Linked DNA regions of Homo sapiens: all the other regions are linked to region 1. The links are contacts of gene promoters, found by promoter capture Hi-C in blood cells and fetal thymus (Javierre and others, 2016). All regions are on one chromosome and are shown on one strand. Each heading gives the region's core, a stretch centred on a gene start or on the middle of the fragment in contact. The rest is flanking DNA. Distances are from core to core; before and after follow the strand shown. Region 1 holds the start of PPP6C (protein phosphatase 6 catalytic subunit). Region 2 overlaps GOLGA1 (golgin A1). Region 3 holds the start of WDR38 (WD repeat domain 38). Region 4 overlaps NR6A1 (nuclear receptor subfamily 6 group A member 1).

Region 1 (2,810 bases), core at 107-2,606:
CCTAAGCTCTGATTTCAGCAAATGCATAGAAACACTTTTCAAAGAAGCAGTATACCTAGGCCGGCGCGGTGGCTCACGCCTGTAATACCAGCACTTTGGTAGGCCGAAGCGGGCGGATCACTTGAGGTCAGGAGTTCAAGACCAGCCTGGCCAACATGGCGAAACCCCGTCTCTACTAAAAATACAAAACAGCCGGGCGTCGTGACGGGCGCCTGTAATTCCACCTAGTCGGGAGGCTGAGGCAGGAGAATCGCTTGAACCCGGGAAGTGGAGGTTGCAGTGAGCCAAGATCGCACCGCTGCACTCCAGCCTGGGTGACAGAGTGAGACTCTATCTCAGTTAAAAACAATAATAATAATAATAATAATAATAATTAAAAAGTTTTAAAAAAGAAAAGCAGTATACCAAAGTCATTCCTTTACCCATACATACATTTACTCTTACTTGGACTCAGGAGTAACAAGGAACTCACCTCCTTTAGAAAACGAAGAAAATGAAATACTGAGTTAAGAAGGGGTTAAGGAGAAAGTATTTGTATTTATTGAGAACCAACTACTTTATCCACTTCAGTAAGCTCAACAACATACTCAGAAACGGGATTCACCTCTGAATTAGCAAAACCGACGATCCTAAAAAGCAATTTGGAGGAGTGGCAATGAAGAGGGACGACCTGACGTTCGCTCCCGCCAGTACCAAACCACTCGGGCCCACCGCCTTCCCCTTCCTCAGAGACCTAAACACACTGAGGCCGCGTTCCGGTAGCCGGTGGCATCTCCTGTCAGACGCCGGCCACTCCGCGCTCCTGTCACCTCCGGTGGAGGCGACCCCATCCCGAGGGCACTGCCGCGGGGGCTCGGCTCCGACTGCGGGAGACCCAGGGATGGGGTGGGGAGCCGAGCCTTCTAAATAAAGCTGTTACAGCTGCGGGTCCTGGGGCAGCCCGAAGGCCAGAAGGGGCGACCCTGGGACAGAGGCCGCGACATCCCTCGGGATCCCCACTGAGGCAACCGGGACAGCATTCGACGACTCGGCTCGCGAGACCCTCGGCGTGACGCCGGGTAGGACCGGGTCGACTGGCAATGGGGGAGGCCCTCCACCGCGACTGGACTGGATACCCGGCGGGGGTCCTGGAGAAAGGAAGGGCCGGCCGGCGGGCGCCCCACAGCCGGAAGGGGCGAGCCCGCAAATAGGGCTCACCTTCAGGTCGTTCTCTGGCAGGTACTTGCACAGCCGCGCTATTTCCACATACTTGTCCAGGTCTAGCGGCGCCATTTTAAGAATAACAAGCCGCGGCAACAGCGGCGGCGGCGGCTGTAGCAGCGGCGGCGGCAGCGGCGGAGGCCGAAGCCGGAACTTTCCCTGCGTCACGTCCGGCCCGTGAGTGGCGCCTGCGCAGCGCCGTTAAAGCGCGACCCGTTTCTCCCCGCTACGTCGGTACGCCCGGCGCCCCCTCTGGCTGAACCCCGACTGCAGGCCCCAAGAGAGCCCGCTTCGGTCCACCCCGCGAAACCTGCTGGGACCCGTAGTCGTCTGCCGCGGGGGTGCTGGGATGTGTAGTTTTCTGTTGTGGACAGCCACCCCTCTCTTTTCCTCCCGTTCCTCCAGACTTTCACCTCCCGGCAGCCGGCGAGGCTTTTCCGAGGCAAAACAGCGGAGTAGGTGGTCCTAGCCACTCACTGGTTTGTTTTTCCAACCCTTTTAAGCACTCTCCAGAATATCTTCACTTAACAATTGGGTAAGCCTGGCCGTAGTAACCGTTTGCACCTTTCCAAGTCCCTGTGAAAACCTCGCCTAAGCCTGTGGCAGAGATGTCAGGCCCCAGTCTTCCAGCCTGAAAGGAAGGGAAACGAATATTATTAAAGCATTTCTGATGCTAAATGCGATACAAATGATATTTTTCCTTTTAATCTTCGTAACGATTGATAGGAAAGTGAGGCTAGGAAACTGCAGTTCACCCCAAATCTCACAGGGAACAAAATGGTGGGGTCAAGATTGAAAAATGGCTTAAGCTTAAGCATGCTTCCAGTGAGAATCCCACGAGGGCAGGGAGTTTTTTGCTGTAACTCCAGCACCGAGAACAGTACCTGGTACTAGCATACCTTCAGCGTTCGTTTATCCAACCACTCTTTGCTGAGCAACAAAGATGTGCCAGGTACAGCTCAAGGCGCTTGCAGTACTTCGTGAACAAAATAGACAAAGATCTCTATTCTATCTGTAGCTACAAAAAGTACCAAAATTAGCCTGGCGCGGTAGTGCGTGCTTGTGGTCCCAGCTACTCTGGAGGCTGAGGCAGGAGAACCGCTTGAGTTGGGAGGCGGAGGTTGCAGTGAGCTGAGATCGCGGCACTGCACTCCAGCTTGGGCGACAGAGCGAGATCCTCCTCAAAAATAAATTAGTAAAAGGAGCTGCTGTATGGGACTAGGGGTGGGGGTGCAATGCCTATAGCTAAGAGACCAGTTAAGAGACTGTTATGTAATCCAATAGTAGCAGGCGCTCAATAAATATTTGTTGCTCAAGAGACCCTGGAATTAATCCTCTTGCTCTCTAAAGTATATTTTGTGGACAATTGGCTAACCCTGAATGAGATATCTGGGTGAACTTCTTTGTATTATTCTTGTAACTCCTCTGAAAGTATGAAATTGTTTCAAAGTAAAATTAATTTTTAGAAGTTTGTTGCAGAATGAATGATGCCCACAAGCATTCATTTCTTCATTCATTAAACTAATAGTTACATAGTGCCTATTGGCCAGGCCGCGGTGGCTAATGCCTGTAATCTCAGCACTTTGGGAGGCCAAGGCAGGCAGATCACC
Region 2 (2,832 bases), core at 85-2,584, 280 kb before region 1:
CTACAGGCGCCCACCACCACACCCGGCTAATTTTTTGTATTTTTAGTAGAGACGGGGTTTCACCATATTGGCCAGGATGGTCTCAATCTCCTGTCCTCATGATCCACTAGCCTCGGCCTCCCAAAGTGCTAGGATTACAGGCGTAAGCCACTGTGCCTGGCCAGTCTATCTCTTTAGCTATGATGGTAGTGGTGGTAGCAACAGGTTGGGACTAACTTGGTTCCTTTTACTGCTACTAATCTTCAACTGCTGCTTGTATTAGTCCATTCTCACACTGCTATAAAGAATACCTGAGACTGAGTAATTTATAAAGGAAAGAGATTTAATTGACTCACAGTTCCACATGGCTGGGAGGCCTCAGGAAACTTACAAGCATGGCAGAAGGAGAAGGGGAAGCAAGGTACATCTTACACGGTGGCAGGATAGAGCAAGCGAGCGAGGGGGGAAGTGCCATACTGTAAAACCATCAGCTCTCATGAGAACTCACTCACTATCACAAGAACAGCAAAGGAGAAATCTGCCTCCATGATCCGATCACCTCCCACCAGGTCCCTCCCTTGACATGTGGGCATTACAATTTGAGATGAGACACGGAGCCTAACCATATCACTGCTCAATGTCAAAGCAGAGGATCCAGGAAGCTTTGAATACATGAGTTCTTACATCCCCACTGAGGATGCCCATTCTTCCCCAGAAAAGGTTGTAGGGCAACAAAATCTCACTGTGAAGACTTGTACCTCTTTACATGTACTCTGTTCCCTCAAATTCCCTTATCTTACACTTCCGTTGCTCCATTTCAAGCCATAAACTTTCATGTTCAGTTGTAACTTGGCCGATCTCTCCTCAGGATAAGATGCAGCAACCAGGGTGTATGGTTTTGGGAAGAAGTATTTGCCATTCTGAATTCTCACAGGTGGACAACAGAGATAGTGGAGGGGAAGTCTGAAGACTAGATTTATGACCCCACAATTCAATAAACTTTCATCAAGCCTGAACTCTATCTGTTGTTTTCTGAGGATACAATCAACATTAATTCCAGCATGGAGGCTGGTGGTGGAGACAGACACACACCTAATTACAAAACAACTGTGCTTCAACAGAGGGACACACACCGTGCTATGAGATATGAGATGCAAGAGGGATTAACTGGGAGAATCAGATCAGGCCTCCTGAATGGGCAAGTCCAGGTGAAAGAGGGTGGAAGAGGAACAATCATTCTGCATAAAGGGCAGCACATACAAAGAGGTAACAGACAAGTCCTGCAAGGCTAGAGGCTGGGTGAGGAGGAAAGAACAGCTGAACACAACTCTCAGGTCTGTGGCTCAGACACCTGGGCAAATGGTAACATTATGCAAGGTGGATAACACAGGAAAGTGAGTGAGTGTGATAGGAAAAAAAAAGCCAGTTTTGGCCATGTTGACCCATCTTTATGGGTCTCTTATTACTAATGTTAATACTAGCAATAGTTATAACTGTAATATAGCAGAAGCAGCTATAACAAGATTGCTGCAGCAATCTTGAAAAAGAATAACTGTAGGCTGGGCGTGGTGGCTCACGCCTGTAATCCCAGCACTTTGGGAAGCTGAGGTGGGCAGATCACGAGGTCAGGAGATCGAGACCATCCTGGCTAACACGGTGAAACCCCATCTCTACTAAAAATACAAAAACAAAATTAGCCGGACGTGGTGGCAGGCGCCTGTAGTCCCAGCTACTCAGGAGGCTGAGGCGGGAGAACGGCGTGAACCTGGGAGGCGGAGCTTGCAGTGAGCCAAGATCGCGCCACTGCACTCCAGCCTGAGCGAGGAGCGACACTCCGTCTCAAAGAAAAAAAAAAAGGAAAGAAAAAGAGTAACTGTTGATGTAAGAGTTGGAGAACATTACCTGATTTCAACTCTAAAGTGACAATGACCAAGACAGTGTGGTAATAGCGTAAAGACAGACATATAGGGTCAAGGGAACGCTGCAAGCACTTCCTATTATGTCTAGTCCTTACAAATGCTCTTTATCACATCCATTTACAAGGAAACTGAAGCTTAGGGACTAGCCCAAAGGCATATACCTATTAGCGATAGATGAAGAATTTAAATCCAGGTCTTCTGGATCCAAAGTCTGCATTTGTTCCCCTACACATCAATCTGAATTCAAGAGGTATAGATGACCCATTCCAGTTAAAACCAAAACAACACATCTTACACAGGTCACTGTGTTAGGCAAAGTTAGGGACAGAAAAAGAATCAGTGGCCAAGTTCCACTTATGCCTCTTGTGCAACATATTGATATGCGATCTCCTTCTCCAGGCTGGCTGATTTACTTCAGGCCCTCTACACCTCATGTGGACTACGGGAACAGTTACCAAGCCATACTCCCTGACATCAAACCTGCCCCTTTCCTAATGATCACCCTCTTCACCTACTCCCTCCCGAGTCTGGGTCTCACAGTTATAGTCCCAGAATATGGACTGCATCAATTCTGGGTGGTGGTCACTTGATTCAGACAGACATGAGTCTGAATCCTGGCTCTGTCATTGACTCCAGCTGTACGGTCTTGACAAATCATTTAGCCTTTGATGTCAGATGCCCATTACTATCACCTGTAAAATAGGAAAACACTGTCTAACCAAAGGGTAGTTGTGAGGACTCGATGAGTCCCTATCTGTAAAGCTCTTGAATACTGAGCTCAGGGTAAATGCTCAGCTATTCTTGTTAAATATTCACTAATGATTATTTATGAAATTTCATGTTCACTATTTAGTCTATACAACTGGCCCTGCATACCTTCCCAGCCTCATCTAGCACCGTTTCCACTTCCTTTCTAAGCGTTAACCACTTGTCT
Region 3 (2,988 bases), core at 393-2,892, 340 kb before region 1:
TGAGCCAAGCCCACGGGTTTCGACCCCAGCTCCACCCCTTCGGCCAAGCAGTCACTGGGCCTGGTGGACAAGGTCTACCCTGAGGGTTCTGGGAGTGAAGGGCTGGGCTGGGGAAGGTGGCTCTGGGCCCTCTGGATAGAGCAGGAGCAACCAAGTGGCTAGACAATGTGCCCAGGGCCGGGGCATGGGTTGGGGGGGTGCCTGAGCAGGAGAGCCAGAGGGCCAGGGAATAGTAGCTCTGGGGAGCTGTGTCTGGGAGCCACATCTGGGTGTGGGGGGACAGCTTTATAGGCCCAGCTCAGAAGGGTCCCACAGTGACCTAGGCCCTCTGGGATCTGGGATGGAGTGGGACTGCCTCAAAGCTGTCATTGTCGCTCCCTCACCCGCCTGACTGTCTGGGACTTAAAATAGCAGGAGCACAGCGGATCTCCTGAGAAGTTTCTGGCAAAGAGGTTTAGGGGGGGAGGGTGTGAGTCGCCGCTGGGAACTCTTGAGTTTGAAGCTCCCAAAGCCCAGCTGCTCCACCCCTGCCCCCAGGGAGCCTAGAATCCATGGGCGGGGCAGGTGGGGGGTCCTCTGTTCCCTCCCTGTCCTGCTGTGGGAGTGGGGAGACTGGGTCCTGCCCCAGCTCTGCCATGGAAGCACCGGCTAGATGGCTGGGCCAAGTCCTGCCCCCTTCGGACCTCAGTTTCCCAGATGTACCAGGAGTTGCGGACCTCAACATCTGCTGAGAGGTCCCTGGAGTTCATGGCAGGTGGTCCCAGTACAGACACCCAGAGTCAGACAGCCATGGGCTGAAATCCCAGTTCCACTCCTACTGGCTGAGTGGCTCTGAGCAAGTCCTCCCAGCTCTCCGGGTGAGTTTCTTCACCTGTAAATTAACAATGAAACCAAGTCCTGCTCGTTCCAAGCTTCAGATTGCGCTATCCGGTAAGGATCCTGGCAGCTCCTGGGCAACTGCCCCCCAGCCCCAGCCTCCACCCCATCCTCAGATGGCACATTTTGTGCTGCCAGGAATGTTAACAGCAACGTGACCCCACTTTTAATGCCATGTACTTTACACACACTACCTCTGGCTTCCACGCCCTGGAGGACAGAGCTGGCTACTGTCCCCAGCGCTCTCCTGGGACATCCTTAACCTCAGTACTGGCCACTCCTGGACGGAAGGGGTATTGGCTCCTGAGGGGGCCCTCTTGGGCATCTACCGTGTGCCAGGCCCTGTGCTTGGCTCACCCCTGGAGTCCTGTGGGGCAGGGCTGATGCTCCCGGTTGTGCAGATGGGGAGACAGGCTCGTTGCTCCCCTGTATCAAAGAGGTGCAGGGACCCCTTGCAGTTCGCAGTCCGCAGGGCGCGGGGCCGGGCTCTGGGCCGCGCGGTGCGTGTGGCTGGCGCGCCCTCTAGTGGCCGCTCTGCCTGCCGTGTTGCCCCGCGCGAGAGCTGCCCTAGAGTGGACGCGCAGCCGCTGGCGCGGGAAGTCCCTTCTCCCAGCCCGCCGCGGTCCCGCCTGCTGCGGCTCCACCTCCGCCGAACTGCAAGCGGTCTGGCCTGCCTGTCAGTCCTCGTGGCTTCGCAGGGACCCCACCATGGCCGCACGCCCCGCCCCGATTACCATGGAGACCGCCTGTACACAGTTTCCTCTTTCCTCTGCCCAGTCCTGGGGTCCCGCGGCCGCCTAGGAGGGAGCCCGCCGGGGCGGGGCGGGGCCGGGTGCCCATGAACAGCGGGGTCCCGGCCACGCTGGCCGTGCGGAGAGTGAAATTCTTCGGCCAGCACGGCGGGGAGGTGAGGTCCAGCGGGCTCTGCCCAGACTCCCGGCTTTGGATGCAGAGTGGTTCCTGGTTCTGTGTAGTGGGGGTTCCAGAATGTTCTCTGGGCAGTGGCTCAGGACATTGAGTCCAGAGTAGACTTTGCTAACCCAAGAAGGATCGAAGTAGGTTCTCAGCTCCAGTGCCGGGCCCCAGCTCCAGAGCAGCTCTAGGTTCTAAGCTCTGCCTGTAAAAAGAGCCCCGGGCTCTGGGCTCTGCCTCGAGAGGGGCACAAAGCTCCCTGCTGACTCTGGTGTTTTCTGGGGCCCTGGCTCTAAAGTGAACTCAGAACTTAGAGTAGATTCTGGACTCTCCGTTGTCAGCTGCGGCTCTGGAATGGGCTCTTAGCTCTGGGGTTCCAGGCTCTGGTTCCAGAGAAGGCTCTTGCCTCCAACTGCAGGCTCTGGCTTTACGGGACTCGAGAGAGGGCCCAGTGGGTCCCGGGTTCTGGGCTCTGGTGGTGGAGTGAGGCTTGAAGTCAAGCTCCAACCCCAGGCTCTTGGGGGGCAGTGTTTAGGGGTCAGAGATGAGCGGACAGGGGTTTCTTCCCCAGAATGGGACCGCTTTTGTGCTGTTTCTAGGTCAACTCTTCTGCCTTCTCCCCTGATGGCCAGATGCTGCTCACAGGCTCAGAAGATGGCTGCGTGTATGGCTGGGAGACCCGGAGTGGGCAGCTGCTGTGGAGGCTGGGTGGCCACACAGGTGGGGCTCCCACACCTGGCCGGGAAGACCGAGGCACAAGGGTCTGGCATGCTGCAGAGCTGACTGCAGTGACCTCCGATGAGCTGGGCACGGGTGCAAGGCAGGGCTGGGCAGGTTGGGAGATGGGACGAGATATCTGGGTGCTGGGGCTTAGACTCTAACAGGCCTGGACTCAGCCTTCTTTAAAAACACACACACACACACACATACATACAAAAACAACTGTAATGTAACACAGTAATACTTACTGTTGCATCCTTTTTTGTGTGTGACAGAGTCGCTCTCTGTCACCCAGGCTGGACAACCTCGGCTCACTGCAACCCCCGCCTCCTGGGTTCAAGCAATTCTCTGCCTCAGCCTCTCGAGTAGCTGGAATTATAGACACCTGCTACCACACCCAGCTAATTTTTTTGTATCTTTAGTAGAGACGGGGTTTCACCATCTTGGCCAGGCTGGTCTTGAACTCCTGACCTCGTGATC
Region 4 (2,880 bases), core at 112-2,611, 430 kb before region 1:
CCACTGCACTCCAGCCTGGGAGACAGAGTGAGACTCCAACTAAAAAAAAATAAATAAATAAAAATAAAAATAAAATAAAAGCCAGCATGAGAGAAAAGAAAAAAGTCACTTGCAATTCTAAGAGTGGGTCTTTTTGGCTCTCTAATCAATAAAAGTTGAATTCTGGGCCTCTCCAACATAGATAAATGCCCCAGATTCTCAGGTTTTTGCTTTTAGGCAGATACTATGCTTGGCAATTTACAGACCTTGTCTCTAATCCTTATAACCCTACAGTCAATTTCAGAAATGTCAGAGTATATTGGAGAAGAGGGGATGTTAAATCTATGAAACAAATTATTAATGCTGTTACTAGCTGCGAAATCTGGAGGTTTAAACTCTGTGGGTCTCAGTTTTCTCCTGTAAGATGGGGATAACAGAACACCTACCTCAGAGTTAAGACGATAAATATACATAAGGTGTTTAGATTATAAACACTATGTAAATGTTAGCTATTAATGTTAAATGAGAACACTAAAGTTCAGAGAAGTCAAGTGACAAAGTCGCATAGCTGTGATCTTTGTTAGGCCACACTCCAGAGTCCCTGCTCTTTGCCTCACACCATCTAACCAAAATCCTTCCTCCCTGGATGGGACTACTATTGCCATTTCCAAAAAACAAAGCCCTCTAAATGCATGTCAATGGGGGGCTTCCCCCAGGTGGTTTATTATCCTGCTAAAAAGGCATCTTGGGGGAAGGATTCCAAGAATAGAGAGAGGAAGTCTCCTGACAGGTTAGACTTCAAGGGTACAGAAAGAATATGGAAGAAAAAAGCCAAATCTGTCTCAGTTATTAGGTTTCGTAATTAAAGCAATTTAACTCAACTGAAGAATGCAATTGAAGATTTCACATGAATCTTCAAATCCAAACATTAAGAAATAAAAGAAAGGCTTGTATTTTCTTATAACTAAGCTGCAATCCCCACAAAACACAAAAATGTTTTCAAAGGTACATTACATGAAACTCCAAGAATATCAAGATAATTAGAGCTCTTAGGAAGGAAGCCCAAATAATTATCTCACTGATCTTTCAACACCTATCCAAGCTTCACCTTGAGTTCTGATGCGGTAACTCCTTATTTGTTATTCACATTGTTATGTGACATTTCTTCAGCCAGCAAGCCCACTACAGGATGAGTTCTACCTAGTAACTACCCTAAGGAGTAAATTTCTAACTCTTTAACAACACAGTAATTGACTTACACTAAAATGTTACTCACACTAGGAAAGGATATTCTTCGACCAGAGGAAGAGATGCCTCTCCTATACAGACTTTATTACCATCTCAGTGAAAACCAGGTTAAAAGCAAACCAATTTACAAAACTGCATTACCGAAATCACAACTCTAAGACTCAGTGAAGCCAAACATGTCTAAGGAAAGCAAATAAGCAAACTATTCTTGATGGAAGTTTTAAAAAGCACGATAGGATCTTTATCTCTTATAAATTGTTCATTATTCTATAGCAATGACTCTTAAGAAATTCTGTTGTCAGATTTATTTCCACAAATGTAAGTCTACCCTTGGTGAGGCAACTGGTTCTCTTGAAAAACTGCTGCCACAAGACAATTATCAGTTAAGCAACAGGTTTCATGTAGCAGGTAACAAAAGCTTTATCAGAGAACTCAGTGAGAGTGCACTACCACACATTTCATGTATTCCCAAGCAAAGAAAACTTAAAATGATATGAACTCATTTTCAATAAAAGTAGCTCAATTATCGAGGGAAGTAAGAAAACTCCAAAGTAAAAAAAGTACTACTAATGGTATCTGGTGAAGTCACCATCTTCTTTACACATTTCGTTAGTTCATTTAGACCTGGAGTTCTCATATATTTATGCCTGAGTGTTCTTCAGGATCCCTTTTACACTCTTAAAAATTATGAAGGACCCTAAAGGGTTGATATTTATGTGGCTTTGTCTATTGATATTTATCATACTGGAAAATAAACCTATGAAAAATTTAAAATATTTGATAATCCATTTAAATTTAATAAATTCACGTTAGTACAAATAACATTTTTATGAAAAATAAAATTGTCCAATAAAACATAAAAATTAGAAGAGTGGCATTGTTTTACATTTTGCTAATCTCCTTAATATCTGGCTTAATCCTAGCAGCTAGATCTCCTATCTGTTTACCCATTCAGTATATTGTGATTTTTTGTTGTTGTTGAAGCACAGGCAGAAAATCTGGCCCCACAGATTTATAATCGGAAAAGGAAGAAGTATTTGCTTTTTAAAGTAATTGTGGATAGTCTTCTTTGATACTACACCAAAACTCAATTAAGTGGTACTTTCTTAAAGGTTAGTTCAGTGTGAGTTTAAAACCATATCAATGAACTATGTGTAATCCGTTACATTAAAATCCATTGATCAATCTGGCATTTTGAACAGATCTCTTAGCTGTGTAGGATCCTGTAATATCACACATAGATCTTTTGGAAAATACTGAATTACTGAGATATTCAGATTTTCAAAATGTTGACACATTTCATAACATCGAAAATCATATTTATTTCATCATCCATCTCATCAGAAGACATTAATCATTGGGAAGCTGTCAAGCTCTTAGTGGCAAGTACAAGTTTTCCAAAACTAATTGTTGCTTGAAAGCTCAAATTTTATTTACTGGCAACCAATACTGTCAGTTTTCCTTGATATGACAGACTCACTGTTCGTTTAAGAAAAAAATAGTCTGCCAAATGCCCAAGGCTGAATCAAGTATAGTTTAATTATTTCAAGTATTCCATGAACAAAAGTAGCTGGCTCAGATCACAACATAATCACACAAGCACTTTGTCTTAAAACAACCATTTTAGTTTGCACCAGAAGTGCTTGGCATGTA

Evidence for each region. The method cuts DNA at HindIII sites, captures the fragments that hold promoters and counts their contacts. A CHiCAGO score of 5 or more calls a contact.
Region 2: a contact is called between a fragment that was not itself captured here and the fragment with the promoter of PPP6C in region 1, in 3 of 17 cell types (M1 macrophages, endothelial precursors and megakaryocytes). The highest score is 7.6, in M1 macrophages.
Region 3: a contact is called between the fragment with the promoter of WDR38 here and the fragment with the promoter of PPP6C in region 1, in 1 of 17 cell types (endothelial precursors). The highest score is 6.5, in endothelial precursors.
Region 4: a fragment that was not itself captured here is called in contact with the fragment with the promoter of PPP6C in region 1 in 2 of 17 cell types (naive CD8 T cells and total CD8 T cells); the score reaches 6.0 in naive CD8 T cells.

Annotation. Positions count from the first base shown.
Region 1 is chr9:125,188,447-125,191,256 of GRCh38, forward strand. It overlaps PPP6C (protein phosphatase 6 catalytic subunit), which reads right to left and starts at 1,357. Exons shown (of 7, transcript NM_002721.5): 1 at 1,198-1,357. The coding sequence starts at 1,272. RefSeq lists enhancers at 679-1,465, 1,466-2,252, 1,555-1,634. The HindIII fragment of the contact is 2,825 bases long and covers 1-2,007 here.
Region 2 is chr9:124,912,680-124,915,511 of GRCh38, forward strand. All of the region lies in intron 10 of GOLGA1 (golgin A1), which reads right to left. Among named protein-coding and RNA genes, the nearest start is that of GOLGA1, 27 kb to the right of the region's middle. The HindIII fragment of the contact is 1,391 bases long and covers 640-2,030 here.
Region 3 is chr9:124,851,818-124,854,805 of GRCh38, forward strand. It overlaps WDR38 (WD repeat domain 38), which reads left to right and starts at 1,643. Exons shown (of 9, transcript NM_001045476.3): 1 at 1,643-1,783; 2 at 2,388-2,508. The coding sequence starts at 1,715. RefSeq lists a silencer at 1,695-1,744. The HindIII fragment of the contact is 17,878 bases long and covers 910-2,988 here.
Region 4 is chr9:124,760,270-124,763,149 of GRCh38, forward strand. The region is part of intron 1 of NR6A1 (nuclear receptor subfamily 6 group A member 1); the gene reads right to left. It overlaps LOC124900274 (a long non-coding RNA gene), which reads right to left. Exons shown (of 2, transcript XR_007061773.1): 1 at 1-2,880. Among named protein-coding and RNA genes, the nearest start is that of NR6A1, 9.6 kb to the right of the region's middle. RefSeq lists enhancers at 257-812, 813-1,367. The HindIII fragment of the contact is 564 bases long and covers 1,080-1,643 here.